3 separate regions of the Homo sapiens genome follow, and all the other regions are linked to region 1. Evidence: promoter capture Hi-C in human tissues and cell types (Jung and others, 2019). All regions are on one chromosome and are shown on one strand. Each heading gives the region's core, a stretch centred on a gene start or on the middle of the fragment in contact. The rest is flanking DNA. Distances are from core to core; before and after follow the strand shown.

Region 1 (3,093 bases), core at 299-2,798:
TGGCTAACGCCTGTAATTCCAGCACTTTGGGAGGCCGAGGCAGACAGATCACCTGAGGTCAGGAGTTCGAGACCAGCCTGGCCAACGTGGCAAAACCCCATCTCTACTAAAAATACAAAAATTAGCCGAGCGTGGTGGCAGGTGCCTGTAATCCCACCTACTCAGGAGGCTGAGGCAGAAGAATCGCTTGAACCCAGGAGAAGGAGGTTGCAGTGAGCCGAGATTGCGCCACCATACTCCTGCCTGGGCAACAGGGTGAGACTCTGTCTTAAAAAAAAAAAAAAAAAAAAAGCGACAGCTGGCCTGGGCGACAGGGAGAGGATGGATTTGTAGCAAAGGAGAGAGGACCTGCCTGTCCAAAGGAGATGGAGTTCTTACAGGAATATAGATCCCTATTTGCTGGTCCTTCCAATTTCTCCAAGAGAAGCTGATATTAGGAATTTCATATGAATTTTTTTAGGTGTTTAAAAATGGACACAGACGGGCACAGTGGCTCATGCCTGTAATCCCAGCACTTTGGGAGGTCAAGGCGGGAGGATCACTTGAGCCCAGGAGTTCAAGACCAGCCTGGGCAATAAAGCAAGACCCTGTCTCTAAAAAAAGCTTTTAGTTAGTCGGGTGTTGTGGTGCACATCTGTAGTCCTAGCTACCCAGGAGTCTGGGGTGGGAGGAGCCCGGGAGGTTGAGGCTGCACTGAGCTGTCCAACCTGGGTGACAGAGTGAGACTGTCTAAAAAAAAAATAAAAAGATACTAAATTAATCAAATAAAACATGTCTCCAGGCTGGTTTCCTGTGCACCACTAATTTACATTCTGTCTAGCTCAACTCTGCTTTTTATTTTAATGTTATTTTTGAGATGGAGTCTTACTCCTGTCACAGAGGCTGGAGTGCAGCGAGTGCCACGATCTCGGCTCACTGCAACCTCTACCTCCCAAGTTCAAGCGATTCTCCTGCCTCAGCTTCTTGAGTAGCTGGGATTATAGGCGTGTGCCACCACACCTGGCTAATTTTTGTATTTTTAGTGGAGATAGGGGTTTCATCATGTTGGCCAGGCTGGTCTCGAACTCCTGACCTCAGGTGATCCACCCGCCTCGCCTCCCAAAGTGCTAGGAATTCAGGCGTGAGCCACCGCGCCCAGCCAACTCTGCTTTTTAGAATGTGGAGTGAAAGCTTAAGACAAAAGGGAAACTTGCTGGGGTTTTCTAGGACTTCTACCTTCTAGGGCACAATATTTTCTATCACCTACCTTCAAACTGAGCATGAGCTACTAGGAATTACCAATAGGATCCATGGTGTGACTCACCATCCACCTAAATGGTCCCAGGAAGGAAGACGAACAGGGAGTCTGGACTTTGGCCTAAGCTATCTCCCACCGGGGCAGGGAATCCTGAAAACCAAACTAGTAGAAGTGAAGAGCAATGGGAAGAGACGCTTAAGAGTGGGAAGAAATAGTTCTCCGGGTTCATTGCAGACTTGCAGTGTAAGACTGAAGTTGACTGAAAAACCAAAGGCCCATTTTCCTGGCAATGGTCTGAGGGGTCAACAAAATTATGTAAGTGATTTCTTTTTTTTTTTGAGACGGAGTCTCGCTCTGTCGCCCAGGCTGGAGTGCAGTGGCGCCATCTCGGATCACTGCAAGCTCCGCCTCCCGGGTTCAAGCGATTCTCCTGCCTCAGTCTGCCCAGTAGCTGGGACTATAGGTGCCCACCACCATGCCTGGGTAATTTTTTTGTATTTTTAGTAGAGATGGGGTTTCACCATGTTAGCCAGGATGGTCTCGATCTCCTGACCTCGTGATCCGCCCGCCTCGGCCTCCCAAAGTGCTGGGATTAAAGGCGTGAGCCACCGCGCCCGGCCAACAGTGATTTCTTTATCTGGGAAAGCTGAACCCCTGACTAGGACCTCTCACAGAATAAAAGCTTCAGATGAATGAGCTCAAGACAGCCTTTCCACCTGGGTCCCACTGAGTCCTTTCTGGACTAAACCTTTCTTTAGGGAAAGGCCGAGCCGTTGTGAGAAGGCTGCCCGTGTTGGCAGGAGCTCTTTCACCACCGAGATCAGGCCAGGGTGTTCAGTCTTTGCTGAGAATGTGGCAACAGAAATGCCAGCCCGAGGCAGCCTCACCAAATGCTGCAGAAAAAGCATCTGTCTCTCCAGCATCTACTCTGCCTGCCAAGGCTGTGTGCCTCTCCCCCACGCTGAGGGATTTAACTGCAGAATATGGGAGCCGCAGCTCTCCGGGGCTGCCCTTTGTGTTCAGAGATTATAATACGGAATGTGGTCTTGGGGTGGCGGGGAATTCAGTTCCTTAGTCTTGCCCATGCCTGAAGCTCAGCTGCAGAATCTCCTGCCTCTTACAATGCCCCCCCTCTGCTGTGAGTCCAGAGATAACAGACTTGATGTGACTGGCAAGAGCCCGCTCAGTAATATCCAACAACCAAAACAGAGCAATTACTGCTTAATTTAAAACTGGTATCTTTTTTGCTTTGCCAAACCCTCAGATGGACCTTGAAGTCTGACAGAACTTTATCTTCTTGAAATTTGACCCAAGTGTTTATAGATCTCACTCTCAAAATTCTATGCAACACTCCCACATTCTACCCAGCTGGAGCCCGGTCAGACAGCACCCTCAACTGCCAAAAACGTGATCCAGGATCCCAGAAGGAAGCCAAAACACAAAAACCGACAATCCCAAGGAGTCGCGACAGAGCTCACTATGTGTGGGCATGAAAATTCCTGCACCCTTTCTCAGATAATCCTCTCAGAGCCTATGGACTCTGATTTTATACTAAAGGGTATCTAATTTCTAAGCCCAGACCAGATAAGCCGCTAAAACCTGACAGCAGGGGAGCGGAGGCAGGGGGGAAAAGAGAAAACCTCCAATTGGCCCAAGCATGAGAGAGTGCAAGCTGGGAAAATAAGAACGCACGCATTGCCTTGAGCTACCAAGACCTCATTCTCCTTAACAGCCCAAGGCCACTTGTAGAAGGAAGCTCAAGGGAACAATCATTTTGTGAAAGCCAAGCACAGAAACAGCAGAACTGAGAAAACAGCTCTGTAACCTACAGCATGTCCACACCATGGGATATCACG
Region 2 (3,093 bases), core at 237-2,736, 380 kb before region 1:
CAGGCTGCCTTTGGCGGCCCGGTCCTGAAGCACGTAGGAGAAGAGTTCCGCGAAGGAGAGGAAGCTGCTGGCGGTCATGGGGCTCAGAGGCTCCAGGTTGCTCTGTTGCATGTCCAGGGCGTACTTCCACAAGCGGATGCAGCGCTCGAAATTGCCCGAGTCGGCGTACACGGCACCCCTGTAACGGATGTAATAGGAAGTGTCCGGGTGCGAGGGACCGAGGATGCGCTCCCGGATCAACAGGGCCTGCATGCGCATCTCATCCGGGTCGGTGATCAGCGCCTCCAGCTCCTCGGTGGTGTTGACCTCCCTGGAATAGTCATAGGCCAGGACCAGCTGTGGGGGCTCCGGTTTGGGCAGGTACTCGCCCCCCTGGTGACGCAGCTCCATGGCCCGCCTCCAGTGTTTAAGGGCCCCAAGCAGATCTCGTTTCTTATCCACATACGTAGCTCCCAGCAATTCCAAGGCTTCCACGGCAGCTTCCCGGCTGGTGGGACAGCAGCTTTCGTAAGATTCCCCGTTCAGTGGTTCCTCTGGGGAGGAGCTGCAGCACGGAGCCCCCTGAGGCTGCGCACACCCCTGGCTGGTGGAGGGGTCTTCTTGGGGCAGCCCAGGCTGAGCCTCTCCCCCTGCGACCTGCTCCTGGCCGGGCTGCTCCTGGATGAGGTACTCCACGATGTTGGTGTGGCCCGTCACGCTGGCCGCGAGCAGCGGGGTCATGCCGTAGCCGTCACGTTCCATGCGGGCCTTGCACCCCAGCAGCAGCTGCAGGATCTCCAGGCTGCCGGACTCGGCGCAGTCATGCAGGGCCGTGTTGCCCTTGGCGCTGCGCCGGTTCACCTGGGCGCCCTGCTCCAGCAGGTAGCGGGCGATCTCACGGTGGCCCTTGTAGCACGAGATCATGAGGCACGTGTGGCCGTGCCGGTTGGCCACCTCCAGGTCGGCCTGGTGCTCGCCGACCAGGTAGCGCACCACCTCCAGGTGGCCGTCGAAGCAGGCGGCGCGGAGAGGCGTGGAGTTGGTGCGCGTGGTGCGGTTCACCGAGGCCCCGCGGCGCAGCAGGCTCCGCACCACGTCCAGGTGGCCGGCTGCGGAGGCGGCCCACAGCGGCGGCGCGCCCTCGATGGTCTCGCCATCGAAGTGCACCGAGCCACCGGCCTCCACGCTCGCGCCGCACCGGTCCACCAGGTACTCCACCACGTCCAGGTGGCCGTAGCGGGCGGCGATGAGTAGCGGCGTTCCCCCGCCGGCCACCTCGCCCGTCAGCTCGTCCAGTTCCTCCCGGCTCCGGCCGCTGAGCAGCTTCTGGAGCAGCTGCAGCTTGCCATCACGGGCGGCGTTGTACACGGCGGTGCGGAGGTCCATGGTTCGGGCCTCCGCCAGGCCATGGGCCGGCCGCCGGGGGACGGGGAGACGGAGGATCAGAGCCCGGACGGGCGGGAGGCAACCTTCACCGTCCCCCTCGCCGCCATCTTAGGGTCTCCTCGGGCGGAACAAAATGGCTGCCGCGACCCGACGGATGGCAGCACGCCGGGAAATGGAGTCCTTTGCGCGGGCCCACTCCATAGAACAGAAAAGGAATCTTGGGGGCTCAAGACTACACTTCCCCAAAGGCCACAGGACAGCCCCTGAGAGCTGTGAGCGCGCGGCATGGTGGGAATTGGCGTTCCAGTCGCAGCGCATGGCATCGGAAGCTAGCAATTTGAGGACTACAATTCCCGTCATGCAGCGTCACACGACCTAGCTTGTGGGAACCGGCGAAATTTGGTGACGTACTTCCCGTGGCTATCTCTGCGTCAGAGCGTATAGAAAAAGCAGGCGCGATACCCTTAAGGACTACATTTCCCAAAAGGGATCACGAGCGACTCTGAGCCAATCAGGACCGAGACCGAAGGCTAAAAGCGACTAGAGGGGACGCGTCTGTTTTGGGCTTGGAGCACGGGCAAGCGGCCCACCGGCAGGGGGCGCCCGGAGGAGGCCGAAAAGCTGGACGGGGCGAAAACGTTTTGAGCTGGGAGAACGGTAAAAAATGACGCGCTCACTTCTTATTCTCACATTCATATATTCATTTATTCATTTACATACATTTATGTATATTCTAGTATGTGTCAGAATTTCCTTCTTTTATTTACGTATTTATTTTTATTTATTTCTTTCAATAACTTTGTGGGGTTTTTTGGTTTTGGTTTTTGTTTTTGAGACAGCGTCTCGCTCTTGTTGCCTAGGCTGGAGGGCAATGCCGCAATCTCGGCTCACTGCAACCTCTGCCTCCCGGGTTCAAGTGATTCTCGTGCCTCAGCCTCCCGAGTAGCTGGGACTACAGACATCCACCACCACGCCCGGCTAATTTTTGTATTTTTGGTAGAGACGGGTTTCGCCATGTTGGCCAGGATGGTCTCGAACTCCTGACCTTGGGAGATCCGCCCGCCTCAGCCTCCCAAAGTGCTAGAATTACAGGCGTGAGCCACTATGCCCGGCCTGACGTGCTGACTTCAATTCCTTTGGATAAAGACCCAGAAGTGGGATTCCTGGATCACCTGGTAGTTTTATTTTTAAATTTTTCTTTGGAACTTCCATACCATTTTCTATAATGGCTATACTAATTAAAATTACCATCAGTAGTGTATAAGTGTTCTCTTCAAATCCTTGCCAACGTTTGTTACCTTTCGTCTTTTTGATGATAGCTATTCTAGCAGTTGTAAGGTGATCCATTCCCTGGCATTTTTTGACAACAATGAATTATATTATGAAAAAGAAATCTTTGGTGACCCGAATTCTTTATTTTTAAAGTTTATTCGAGGTGTAATATATATACAATAAAATGCATTTTTAATAAAGAGGACAGGTTTGGCCGGGCAAGGTGACTCACACCTGTAATCTCAGCACTTTGGGAGGCTGAGGTGGGAGGATTGCTTGAACCCAGGAATTCGAGACCAGCCTGGGAAACATAGCACATCTCTACAAAAATAGAAAAATTAGCCGGGCGTGGTAGCGTGCACCTGTTGTCTCAGCTACTCGGGAGGCTGAAGTGGGAGGATCGCTTGAACCTAGGAGGTCAAGGCTGCAGTGAGCCGTGATTGCACCATTGTACTT
Region 3 (3,093 bases), core at 434-2,933, 290 kb after region 1:
TTTTGTATTTTTTTGTTTTAGTAGAGACGGGGTTTCACCATGTTGGCCAGACTCGTCTTCAACTCCTGACCTCAGGTGATCCACCCGCCTCGACCTCCCAAAGTGCTGGGATTACAGGCGTGAGCCACCGCGCCCAGCCTATGACCTTTCTTATAAAGTGGTACGGCTATTGTATTAAATAGTAAGGTGGTGCTTCAAAAAGTTCAACATAGAATTACCATATAATCCAGTAATTCCTCTTCAGAACATATACCCAAAAGAACTCAAGGCAAGGACTCAAACAGATATTTGTACATCTGTGTTCATAGCGGCACGATTCACCGAAGTGTCTAGTGGCAGATAAATGGATAAGCAAAATATAGTCCATGCACACAATAGAATATTATTCAGCCTTAAAAAGGAGGAAAATCCTGACTGGGTGCGGTGGCTCACGCCTGTAATCCCAGCACTTTGGGAGATCGAGGCGGGTGGATCACGAGGTCAGGAGATGGAGACCATCCTGGCTAACACGGTGAAACCCCGTCTCTACTAAAAATACAAAAAAATTAGCCGGGCATGGTGGTGGGCACCTGTAGTCCCAGCTACTCGGGAGGCTGAGGCAGGAGAATGGCGTGAACCCGGGAGGCAGAGTTTGCAGTGGGCCGAGATCGCACCACTGCACTCCAGCCTGGGTGACAGAGCGAGACTCCGTCTCAAAAAAAAAAAAAGGGAAATTTTTCTTTTTTTTTTTTTTTCTGCTCTTTTTTGGAGCAGGGCTACCCGATTGGAAGTATGCCCGGAGTAGTCAAGTGGGTAAATTCTAACACAGGTTACAACGTGGATCTAACACAGCTACAACAGGCACCTTGAGGACGTGGCCCTCAGTGAAATATGCCAGCCACAAAGGGACAAAACCTGTGTGATCCTACTCATATGAAGTCCCTAGAATCATCAGATTCACAGGAAGTACGACGTTGGGTTCCAGGGGCTGGGGAGGGGGATAGGGAGTGAGGTTTCATAGGGGACAGTGTTTCAGTTTCGGAAGATGAGAAAATTCTGGAGATGGTGGTGGTGGTGGTTGCTTAATGCCGCTGAGCTGTGCATTTAGAAATGGTTAAAATGACAAGTTTTATGTTATGTGTATTTTATAATAAAAATGTTTCAACATGCGCATAGTAATATATGCAATTTTATTTGTCAATTAAAATAAATTTTAAAAATGTTTTAGAGTGGCCTTGTTCTGATGAAGGAGGGGGAGTAACTGACACTCTAAGGCGGTGGGGGCTAGGGGCGTGTGTCCACGCTTGCCAAAAAGATTAAATGGACTCTGGGTGGGTCTCGTCCACTGTTCTGGGGTCTTACGGGTTCTCTCAGCCCCAGCCTGGGGCACCACAGGCTCTCAGGAGTCTGGCTACCCTGCCCACCTGTGCACGACCATCACCCCAGCCTTCATCCCTCCGTCTCCTCCCCTGCTCCCGCGCCTCATGCCCCAAGCGCTTGGGCACACGCGCCGTGGTAAGGCAAGCGAGGGCGCCCGGTCCCGGCACCGCCTCGCGTCGGTCTCCGCCCCTTTCCCCTCCGAAAGGCGGCCTTGTGCTGCTGCGCAGGCGCGGCGGCTGGGGGTGGGGTCCATCGCGGCTCCCGATCCCGTTATCGCGAGAAGCCGGTCCGCGATCTTGTGGCCGCCCCTCCCCTCCCCCTGCCTCTCGGACTCGGGCTGCGGCGTCAGCCTTCTTCGGGCCTCGGCAGCGGTAGCGGCTCGCTCGCCTCAGCCCCAGCGCCCCTCGGCTACCCTCGGCCCAGGCCCGCAGCGCCGCCCGCCCTCGGCCGCCCCGACGCCGGCCTGGGCCGCGGCCGCAGCCCCGGGCTCGCGTAGGCGCCGACCGCTCCCGGCCCGCCCCCTATGGGCCCCGGCTAGAGGCGCCGCCGCCGCCGGCCCGCGGAGCCCCGATGCTGGCCCGGAGGAAGCCGGTGCTGCCGGCGCTCACCATCAACCCTACCATCGCCGAGGGCCCATCCCCTACCAGCGAGGGCGCCTCCGAGTGAGTGGGCAGGGGTCAGCCGGAGGCTTGGGGTGCACGGGGCAGGGAGCCCTCGGGGAAGGACGGGGCGAGGGGACGGGGGTTCGCGAGGAGTGCACGAGGCAGGGGGGTCACGGGGGAGGACGGGGTGAGTGGTGCACGGGGCAGGGGGTTCTCGAGGGGAGGACAGGGCAGGGGACCCTCGGGGGAGGACGGGGCAGGGGGCCCTCGGGGGAGGACGGGGCAGGGGGCCCTCGGAGGACGGGGCGAAGGGTGCACGGGGCAGGGGGGTCTTTGAGCAGTGAGATTGGGCGAGGGGAGGTCCTTGTGGTGGAAAAGATGGGGTGTGGGGTTCCTGAAGAGTGGAATTGGGATAACGGGAGTCTCTGAGTAGTGAAGTTGGGGTGAAGGATGTCTCTAAGAGGAGAGGATGGGGACAGGGGTCCCTGAGCAGCGAGGTTGAGTGAGGGGAGGTCCCTGCAGTGCAGAAGATGGGGTGTGGGGCTTCTGAAAAGTGAAGCTGGGGTGAGGGGAGTCCCTCAGTAGGAAAATCGGAATGAGGGGTGTCCCCAAGGAGAGAACAGGATGAGGCTCCCCAAGCAGTGAGATCGGGGTGAGGGGTATCTCTAAGAGGAGAGAACACAGTGTGGGGTCCTTGAGTAGTGAAATGAGGGTGAAGAGTTCCTAAGAGGAAAGGACGGAGTAAAGGTTGCCGTAGTCATGAGATGAGGGTGAGGGGAGACCCTGAGTAGGGAAATCGGGGTGCAGGGCATTCCTGAGAGGAGAGGATGGGGTGTGGGGAGGTCAGGCAGCCCCTGAGGAGGAAATCTGGGCAAGGGGGCTCCAGAGGGGAGAGGATGGGGTGAGGGGTCCCTGAGTAATGAGACTGAGATGGGGTAGGGTCCCTGGTAGGAAAAGACGGGGTAAGGGTCCCTCAATAATGAGATAGGGCCAAGGGAGGTCCCTGTGGGAAAAGACAGGGCATGGAGTCACTGAGTAGCAGAATGGTGGTAGGTCTCTGAGTAGTGAAATGGGGTGAACGGTCCCTGAATAGTGAAATCGGGGAGATGGTGGGGTCCCTGAGTAATGAGAT

Evidence for each region. The method cuts DNA at HindIII sites, captures the fragments that hold promoters and counts their contacts. A contact is called where the count stands out against the background at its distance.
Region 2: a contact is called between the fragment with the promoter of FEM1A here and a fragment that was not itself captured in region 1, in 2 of the 25 tissues and cell types used here (dorsolateral prefrontal cortex and spleen).
Region 3: the fragment with the promoter of MAP2K2 here is called in contact with a fragment that was not itself captured in region 1 in 1 of the 25 tissues and cell types used here (dorsolateral prefrontal cortex).

What each region holds. Positions count from the first base shown.
Region 1 is chr19:4,414,656-4,417,748 of GRCh38, reverse strand. All of the region lies in intron 3 of CHAF1A (chromatin assembly factor 1 subunit A), which reads right to left. Among named protein-coding and RNA genes, the nearest start is that of CHAF1A, 14 kb to the right of the region's middle. The HindIII fragment of the contact is 3,051 bases long and covers 23-3,073 here.
Region 2 is chr19:4,790,127-4,793,219 of GRCh38, reverse strand. FEM1A (fem-1 homolog A) reads right to left here and starts at 1,486. Exons shown (of 1, transcript NM_018708.3): 1 at 1-1,486. The coding sequence starts at 1,365. It overlaps LOC124904620 (a long non-coding RNA gene), which reads left to right and starts at 1,928. Exons shown (of 2, transcript XR_007067103.1): 1 at 1,928-2,022. RefSeq lists enhancers at 1-518, 806-865, 519-1,175, 1,396-1,665, 1,176-1,833. The HindIII fragment of the contact is 32,697 bases long and covers 1-3,093 here.
Region 3 is chr19:4,122,712-4,125,804 of GRCh38, reverse strand. MAP2K2 (mitogen-activated protein kinase kinase 2) reads left to right here and starts at 1,683. Exons shown (of 11, transcript NM_030662.4): 1 at 1,683-2,021. The coding sequence starts at 1,930. RefSeq lists silencers at 1,531-1,650, 1,841-2,090. The HindIII fragment of the contact is 9,633 bases long and covers 1-3,093 here.